3 separate regions of the Homo sapiens genome follow, and regions 2 and 3 are each linked to region 1. The links are contacts of gene promoters, found by promoter capture Hi-C in blood cells and fetal thymus (Javierre and others, 2016). All regions are on one chromosome and are shown on one strand. Each heading gives the region's core, a stretch centred on a gene start or on the middle of the fragment in contact. The rest is flanking DNA. Distances are from core to core; before and after follow the strand shown. Region 1 holds the start of OR5T3 (olfactory receptor family 5 subfamily T member 3). Region 2 holds the start of OR5W2 (olfactory receptor family 5 subfamily W member 2). Region 3 holds the start of OR5M10 (olfactory receptor family 5 subfamily M member 10).

Region 1 (2,837 bases), core at 106-2,605:
TGTAAGTCACTGAATTCAGAATGGACCTGCATATGACAGAGTTGTCACCCCTTTTAAAACTTTCATAATCTATGACATGATAAAAGAAAAACAAAGTCACCTTGCTTAAATCTCCCCTCTAATTTTACCTCTAAATTTAGTGTATGTAGTACTAAACCGTTTCAATAACAGGTTTTCAGTCTAGATACAGAAGTCCCTGTAACCTTGTTACCTTTTTTCTTTTAATTATTTATTTATTTTTGGTTGTGTAATTGTCTTTCTTCATACTTGTCAATGTGAAACAGAATGATACCATCAGGAAAGAAGTCCAGAGGACAAACACTACTTTCTTGCAAATATAGTAATGTTATTTTTTAGCCAGATATTCTATAATTTTTATTAGTTATTATTGGTGATTTTTATTTCATAGTAATTTTAGAAACTCTAAAAGCAACTATAATATACTAAAAGAATGGCCATGATTTATTTTTAACAGAAATATAAAATAAAATAAAATAAAATACATCCAAGGACTTTGCAAAAATAACAAACATATGAATTATTAGTAAGATATATCTCACATTGTTATTAAGTTGAAATTTAAAAACAGTTATGATAAACAAGGTACAGAGGCCAAAATTTGCCAACTAGGTGATATATATTTCAGGAAGAAAAAATCCTGAAAATAAAACACATTGTAATGTTTGTAAAGGTACGTCTATCTCCAGAATACAGTCTGCTCTTCTATGTAATGGAACAAGATAATTGCCAGAACAGAGGACATGAAATGGTTTTATTTAAAAAGGCTGCTGCATGCGACAAGTTGAAATGTATGTCTGACTTATCCCCATTTTCTAGTCATTTGGAAGCCTTTTAAATTAAATAGTTTTGATATTTTTAAACATTTAAATTCAACTGTGCTGTGAGTGTGGTTTCTCTTATTTTAAAATTGTGAACATTTACAAAAGACATTTCATGTACTTCATCACAAATCTAAAAGTGTACTCAAGTGTGTGCTTTCCACTATAACATATTTAGTTTTAAATATTTCTACATTCAGCAATCTTTGTGAGCTTTAGGACATAATATGAGAGGAAGCAGTAAAAATTTCAACTGAAAATTAACTGGAAAATAAAATCACTTTAATTAGCAGGGTTTTTTAAAAACATGATAAATTTAGCCAAGAAATTAATTACATATTTTTTTTCCTTTTACTTATACAGTGAAATTCATCTATTTGGCTCCAATTACTTCATCATTGTCTATTCCATTACTATCAGGGAAATTATTATGCCCCAAGAAAAAAACAAGGATACAATTGAATGGACTCCACTTTCACAGGCTATAACCTTTATAACCTGCAAGTAAAAACTGAAATGGACAAGTTGTCATCAGGTTTGGATATATACAGGAATCCACTGAAGAACAAGACTGAAGTCACCATGTTTATATTGACAGGCTTCACAGATGATTTTGAGCTGCAAGTCTTCCTATTTTTACTATTTTTTGCAATCTATCTCTTTACCTTGATAGGCAATTTAGGGCTGGTTGTGTTGGTCATTGAGGATTCCTGGCTCCACAACCCCATGTATTATTTTCTTAGTGTTTTATCATTCTTGGATGCTTGCTATTCTACAGTTGTCACTCCAAAAATGTTGGTCAATTTCCTGGCAAAAAATAAATCCATTTCATTTATCGGATGTGCAACACAGATGCTTCTTTTTGTTACTTTTGGAACTACAGAATGTTTTCTCTTGGCTGCAATGGCTTATGATCACTATGTAGCCATCTACAACCCTCTCCTGTATTCAGTGAGCATGTCACCCAGAGTCTATGTGCCACTCATCACTGCTTCCTACGTTGCTGGCATTTTACATGCTACTATACATATAGTGGCTACATTTAGCCTGTCCTTCTGTGGATCCAATGAAATTAGGCATGTCTTTTGTGATATGCCTCCTCTCCTTGCTATTTCTTGTTCTGACACTCACACAAACCAGCTTCTACTCTTCTACTTTGTGGGTTCTATTGAGATAGTCACTATCCTGATTGTCCTCATTTCCTGTGATTTCATTCTGTTGTCCATTCTGAAGATGCATTCTGCTAAGGGAAGGCAAAAGGCCTTCTCTACATGTGGCTCTCACCTAACTGGAGTGACAATTTATCATGGAACAATTCTCGTCAGTTATATGAGACCAAGTTCCAGCTATGCTTCAGACCATGACATCATAGTGTCAATATTTTACACAATTGTGATTCCCAAGTTGAATCCCATCATCTATAGTTTGAGGAACAAAGAAGTAAAAAAGGCAGTGAAGAAAATGTTGAAATTGGTTTACAAATGAAGAATATATTTAAAATTGAGTAAACCTGAAAAAAATGTTGAGTGTCAGAGTTCACATCTCTATATTTTAGTTAAAGTATTTGCATATCAAAGAATAGTTTCAAAAAAGCATTAAGCAGCCTGCCAATGCAGCATTTTTCAAATGTAAACAAATTGCATCACATATTTGCCAATTAATTTGTTCAGAGATCTATATTAAATATTATTTGATATAAATATATTGTTATTGTTACCAACCACACACTACTAACAACAGCTTTCACAGTAAGTAAAAATCAGTTACACACTTATAACTAGTAAGTGAATCCTACAGAATCCTGGGAATTGATAAATGCTTACATGGCTGATAAAAAGTTTTTGCATTCATTGTGGAGTTACTTCCTCAATCTATAAGCCCTAAGAAGAAATATCCAAATTTTACTTTACTTTCCCTAAATGTGCCTTCATAAACTGAGATCTACTCAAGCTTCCAAACATGCCTTTTGCTGTGTTTATATCTACATCATAAATTCTT
Region 2 (2,837 bases), core at 137-2,636, 340 kb before region 1:
GCCTGGTGGCAGGCACCTGTAATCCCAGCTACTCGGGAGGCTGAAGCATGAGAATCACTTGAACCAGGGAGGCGGAGGTTGCAGTGAGCCGAGATTGCACCACTACACTCCAACCTGGGCAATAGGGTCAGATTCCATCACAAAAAAAAAAAGAAAAGAAAAAAAGAAAAATTACTCTGAAATATATATTAAACAAATAAAAATTTGCCCCACTAACTCAAAGACTGGAGCATTTTTCAAATATAGAGAAATTACCTTACCTAAATTGAAAACACATTAAAAAAATAGCATATTTAGACAATTCCAGAGAATTGCTAGATTGTGGCTGAGTAAAATATGTATTATATTAAATTAGGGTATTTGAGACAACTTTATGTTATAATATATAATTTGAAGAAAACACCAGTATGAATATGCATTTTTGTGTGTATAAACATGTATTTTTACTATTTCCTTAAAATAAAATTTTATTTTTCAGTTTTTTCAGGGCCTCTTTCACATCCTTGTTCCTCAGGCTATAAATCAGGGGGTTCAACATGGGAACCACAAGGGTGTAAAACAATGAGGTCATTTTATCTTGATCTAGAGAATAGGAAGAACTTGGCCGGAAATACATAAAGAGCAGAGTTCCCTGGAAAATTGCAACCGCAGATAAGTGGGAAGTGCATGTAGAGAGAGCTTTGAACCTCCCCTCAGCAGAGTGTATCTCCAAGACTGATAGGATGATATAACAATAAGAAATGAAAACTCCTGAAATGGTACTCAGTTCAATAAAACCAAAGACGGTGAATAACACTAACTCATTGACCTGTGTATCTGAGCGAGAGAGTAATAAGAGAGGAGGGATATCACAGAAGAAATGATTAATCTCATTAGACCCACAGAAGCATAGGCGGAAGGCCAGTGTCATATGTATCAAAGCATCTGCTATTCCCACCAGATAAACCCCAGTCAAGAGTAGATAGCACACTCTGCTAGACATGTTGACTGTATAGAGCAGGGGGTTGATGATGGCCTTGTACCGATCAAAGGCCATCACTGACAGCAGTAGACACTCAGAATCTGCAAAGATACAGAAGACCAAGAATTGCAGAGCACAGCCATAGAAGGGTATTGACTTGTTCTTGGCAAGTAGATCTACCAGCATCTTGGGCCCAGTTGCAGTAGAATAGCAGAGATCACAGAAAGACAGATGACTGAGGAAGAAATACATTGGTGTGTGAAGTTGGTAATCCATTCTGATTAAAACTATCATTCCAAGATTTGCTGAGAAATTAATGATATAAACAGCCAAGAATACAGCAAATAGGGTCACTTTCATCTCTGGGTTATTGGTAATTCCCAAGAGAAAAAAATCAGTTAATGAGGAGCAATTTTCCCAGTCCATTCTTCCTTGTTCTTGTTTCAAACTGCTACAGAAATCATTACGAGAATGACAGTCTAGAACTTGACTTTCCAAGATATCAAAAAAAAAATTATCTGTAAAGTAGAACAAGATTTGTTTATGTAAATTATCTTCTTTACCCTCAAAAAGTATCCCAGGTGAGTGTCACTTTCAAAGAGGCATTATTACTGTATTAAAAAAAAAAAACCCTAAAAGTGTCTGCCAAAGGAAGTTGATCAACTTTGAATCTAAACTTACATGCAATTTCTGACATATATCATTTGTCTTTGCTTCTATTGTACAATCTAAGGCAGTCAATTTGATTAAACTGAAAGCTCAGTACAGATCCAAAAGGATGTGAAAGAAACACCATAGTTAGAGTCACAAGGGCCAGAACATACCGGACTAAGCATCTCATATATTTGACAAAAAAGGATCATATTTATTGCATTATTCAAGAAATATATACATTTTTCTACCACTGACAGTGATATTACATGTAAGTTAATAAGAGAAAATTATTATGGTACTGTTTTTGATGTGGTGTCGTTAGTGCTTACTGGAAAAGAAAAATGTTTTATTTAACTGTTACTCATCATCACTGGTTTGTCACAGCATTTATAATCCATTTGGATGACTTATCTGGTTCTAAAAAACAAAAGCCAAATGTAAGTGGTAAAAGAAGTGTGAACAACAGACTACTTATATTTGCTTATAATTGACTTTTTCATTAAAATCAAAATGTGAAGAACAATAAGTGTTTCTGAAATATATAGGCTTCTGTTGCTTGTGTTATATGTGCACTTACTCTTGTGTGTGTGTGTGTGCCTGTGTGTGTCTGTTATATGAAAATTGAAATGTGGGGTGGGTCTGATTGTTATTTCTTCTAGACTTAAATATTATGGCATGTACCTTAAGAACTTGAATTTTCATAAATTAATATCTGTAATGTGTTACCTCTATTATTATTTGAGTAAATCTAGAACCTATCTTAAATTTACATCTAAAATAATATCACAGGTACAGTGATTTTTTAAAGTAATGATTTACTTATGAAGGTTGATTAAAATATAAATGGGTGAAATCTATATTATCCTCTTACAATGACAAGTAAGGTCAGTCAAATTCACACAGATCCAATAAGAAAATATCATTGTTTGGCCATTAGATTCCAGAGGTGCTTCAACTGAGTAAGCATCTATAAAATCATTCATTTGTAAATTCCTTAATACATGATTTCTTATTTTTCCAAAATTTTTCCTCTGTCCTTTAAATTGATCATTCAGAAACCTACCTGAGATGAGCAAGTCTTTCTGTCCTTACCTCTGGTATGTGAACAATAGGCAGATCACATTTTATTTTTACTGGTGACTGTTGGGACATAAATCTCTCAAGCCTCTGCCTTCACTCCTTTATGTTATTCAAACATGATTAATTAGATTCCTAGTTCTGT
Region 3 (2,837 bases), core at 133-2,632, 330 kb after region 1:
GGCTCCCAAAGTGCTGGGATTACAGATGTGAGCCACCATGCCCGGCATCATTTTTTTAAAAATGTAAAATTAGCCACCCTATCTGGAGCCTCACTATGGCTCTATGGATAGTAATATTCAAAGGGGTTGGATTTTCAGAGTTTCTCTCAGGCTAAGTTAGTTAAAAGTTTACCCCCAAGTAAGTAAACCCAGTATTTTCATACAGAATTATTAGAAACCAAACAATTTATATTCATAGAATCTCTGACAAATAAAACATTATTAATTTCAACATTAAGCTTTTTATTTTTAAAAACTAAATCTTCAAAGTGTTAATTTTGAGAAGAAACTAAAGTGGTTACTAAGAGCCCATACTGTTAAATAATAACTACACTAGGTTTTTCCATTTCAGTTTGTTACCCCACAGGCACTTAGGGATTACAAATAAACACAGGCCTAAACTGCAATTTTACAAAAGGATTTTCCCCTAATCATTTGTTGTATGGCAAGGATTACATCTCTGTTCCGTAGGCTATAGATCAATGGGTTCAGCATTGGGCTCAAAAAAGTATAAAAGACTGCAATTATTTTGGACTCCTCTACAGACTTCTCTGATGGAGGCCTTACGTACATGCAGAAGAGGGTTCCATAAAACAAAGTGACTATTGTCAGGTGGGAAGCACACGTAGAAAAGGCTTTGTGCCTGCCTTCAGCAGAACGGATCCTGAAGATCGCTGCAAAAATGAAAAGATAGGACAGAAGAATGATGAAGAGAGAGCTTGAGAGAGTAAAGCCTGCAACTACAAACATTGCCATCTTTTTGACACGGGTGTCAGAGCAGGCCAGCATGATAAGAGGAGGATCAGCGCAGTAGAAATGATTGATTTCAAGGGAGCCACAGAAGGATAAGTGAAAGGTCAGCAGTGTCTGAGAGAGCCCATTAAGGAAGCCATACATGTAAGGCACAGTGACCAGAGAGATGCAAATGTTCTTGGACATCCTGGAACTGTAATGTAAAGGGCTGCAAATGGCTACATAGCGATCCAATGCCATTGAAGCAAGGAAGTAAAACTCAGTGATCACTAGGGCGATGAAGAGAAGACACTGTGTGAAGCATCCAGCGTAGGAGATGGTCTTCTGTTCTGAGAGGAAATTGTGCAGCATATTTGGAGTAACATTGGAAGAATAGCAAATGTCTACAAAGGAGAGGTGACCAAGGAAGAAATACATGGGTGTTTGCAGTTGGGAATTGGTCCTGATCAGCAGGATCATGCACAGGTTGCCTGCCAGTGTGATTAGGTAGATCGCCAGGAACACCCCAAACAGGATCTTCTCTAGCACTGGGTCGTCTGTCAGTCCTAAGAGAATGAATTCTGTCACTATGGTGTGGTTTGGGGACAACATCTTCTTATTTCTTGAAAACTGAAAGTGACAAAGAATGTGAGGATTCTCTCTGATCCAGATTTGGCATTTGTTTCATCCATTTATCATTCACTCATTCATCTATTCATCTAGGCACCAATTACTTTTTTCAATAAACACATCAGAATTTCTGCACAACGTTTTCTCTTTATATGTGTGTGTTTTCTGTCTCTTTTTGTATCTCAAACCCACACACACACAGGCACATTCTCTATTTCTGTCTCTTATATATATACATTTATAAATTTATACATTAATGCATTTATACTTGTCTTCTTGGTGAATTCTACATTTGGTAATTATTTTCAAGGTTTGTGAGGGAACAAAAAAAACAAAGAAATGAATATCAGATATTAATATTAGCATCATTTAAATAAATAAATGTAGGAAGTCCAATCTTCAGTTTCCCTCCATGTCTGATATCTTATTATTTCAGATACAAAACAGAAGAAAAAAATTAAGGTAGCATTTTCACTTAAAACCTATGACTGTCGGCCGGGCGCGGTGGCTCACGCCTGTAATCCTAGCACTTTGGGAGGCCGAGGCGGGCAGATCACGAGGTCAGGAGATCAAGACCATCCTGGCTAACACTGTGAAACCCCATCTCCACTCAAAATACAAAAAAGTAGCCAGGCGTAGTGGCGGGCGCCTGTAGTCCAAGCTACCGGGAGGCTGAGGCAGGAGAATGGCGTGAACCCGGGAGGCGGAGCTTGCAGTGAGCCGAGATCACACCAGGGCACTCCAGTCTGGGCGACAGAGCGAGACTCCGTCTCAAACAAACAAACAAACAAACAAACAGAAACCTATGATTGTCAGTGAACATTAAATTAGTTAAACTTAGTGCTTGATATATGGCTAAGAATATACAAAACCAAGAACTGTTTTTTCACTTTGAAATTTTACCTGCCTGTTTATTCATGTACACTGACTGCATAGCTTGATTTTTTTGTGTGTATTACAATTCCTGGGGTTATTGGAGTGAACAAATTTTCCAGTTTCATGGAGCTCACATTATAATATGAGAAATAATGGTTAAACCCACAGAGAAAGATACATATTATAATTTCAAGTAAAAGCTGGGTCTGTGAAGAACAATGAATGTGAGATTCTTTTAGATGACTATTCAAAGTAGCCTTTTCTGAGAATGCAACATTTGAACAGTAAATAAACAATTATAGCACCTGAAGGAAGAGAGTGAAGTTTTTTTGTCTCCATTTATATGCCACTAAACTACTTATTAAAATATTGTTAGAGAATCACAGAACATTGTTAAAAGCAGTCTTTGCTGCCAACTCAAGCCACTCTCTCTGAGTTCTTCATGAAAATAAGCTATGACTGTAAAAATTATTGCTCAAAAATTTGCACCCTAAAGAAATTGCTTATTTAGCTCTCACATATACATCAGAGGAGCTTGCATATAATTGATTTTAGAGTCA

What was found. Contacts are between HindIII fragments. The CHiCAGO score rates a contact against its expected background, and 5 or more counts as called.
Region 2: the fragment with the promoter of OR5W2 here is called in contact with the fragment with the promoter of OR5T3 in region 1 in 5 of 17 cell types (non-activated CD4 T cells, erythroblasts, M2 macrophages and 2 more); the score reaches 7.4 in non-activated CD4 T cells.
Region 3: the fragment with the promoter of OR5M10 here is called in contact with the fragment with the promoter of OR5T3 in region 1 in 5 of 17 cell types (M0 macrophages, erythroblasts, total B cells and 2 more); the score reaches 6.0 in M0 macrophages.

What each region holds. Positions count from the first base shown.
Region 1 is chr11:56,250,899-56,253,735 of GRCh38, forward strand. OR5T3 (olfactory receptor family 5 subfamily T member 3) reads left to right here and starts at 1,356. Exons shown (of 1, transcript NM_001004747.2): 1 at 1,356-2,324. The coding sequence starts at 1,356. The coding sequence ends at 2,324. The HindIII fragment of the contact is 3,630 bases long and covers 1-2,787 here.
Region 2 is chr11:55,913,196-55,916,032 of GRCh38, forward strand. It overlaps OR5W2 (olfactory receptor family 5 subfamily W member 2), which reads right to left and starts at 1,387. Exons shown (of 1, transcript NM_001001960.1): 1 at 455-1,387. The coding sequence starts at 1,387. The coding sequence ends at 455. The HindIII fragment of the contact is 7,753 bases long and covers 1-2,837 here.
Region 3 is chr11:56,576,339-56,579,175 of GRCh38, forward strand. OR5M10 (olfactory receptor family 5 subfamily M member 10) reads right to left here and starts at 1,383. Exons shown (of 1, transcript NM_001004741.1): 1 at 436-1,383. The coding sequence starts at 1,383. The coding sequence ends at 436. The HindIII fragment of the contact is 7,953 bases long and covers 277-2,837 here.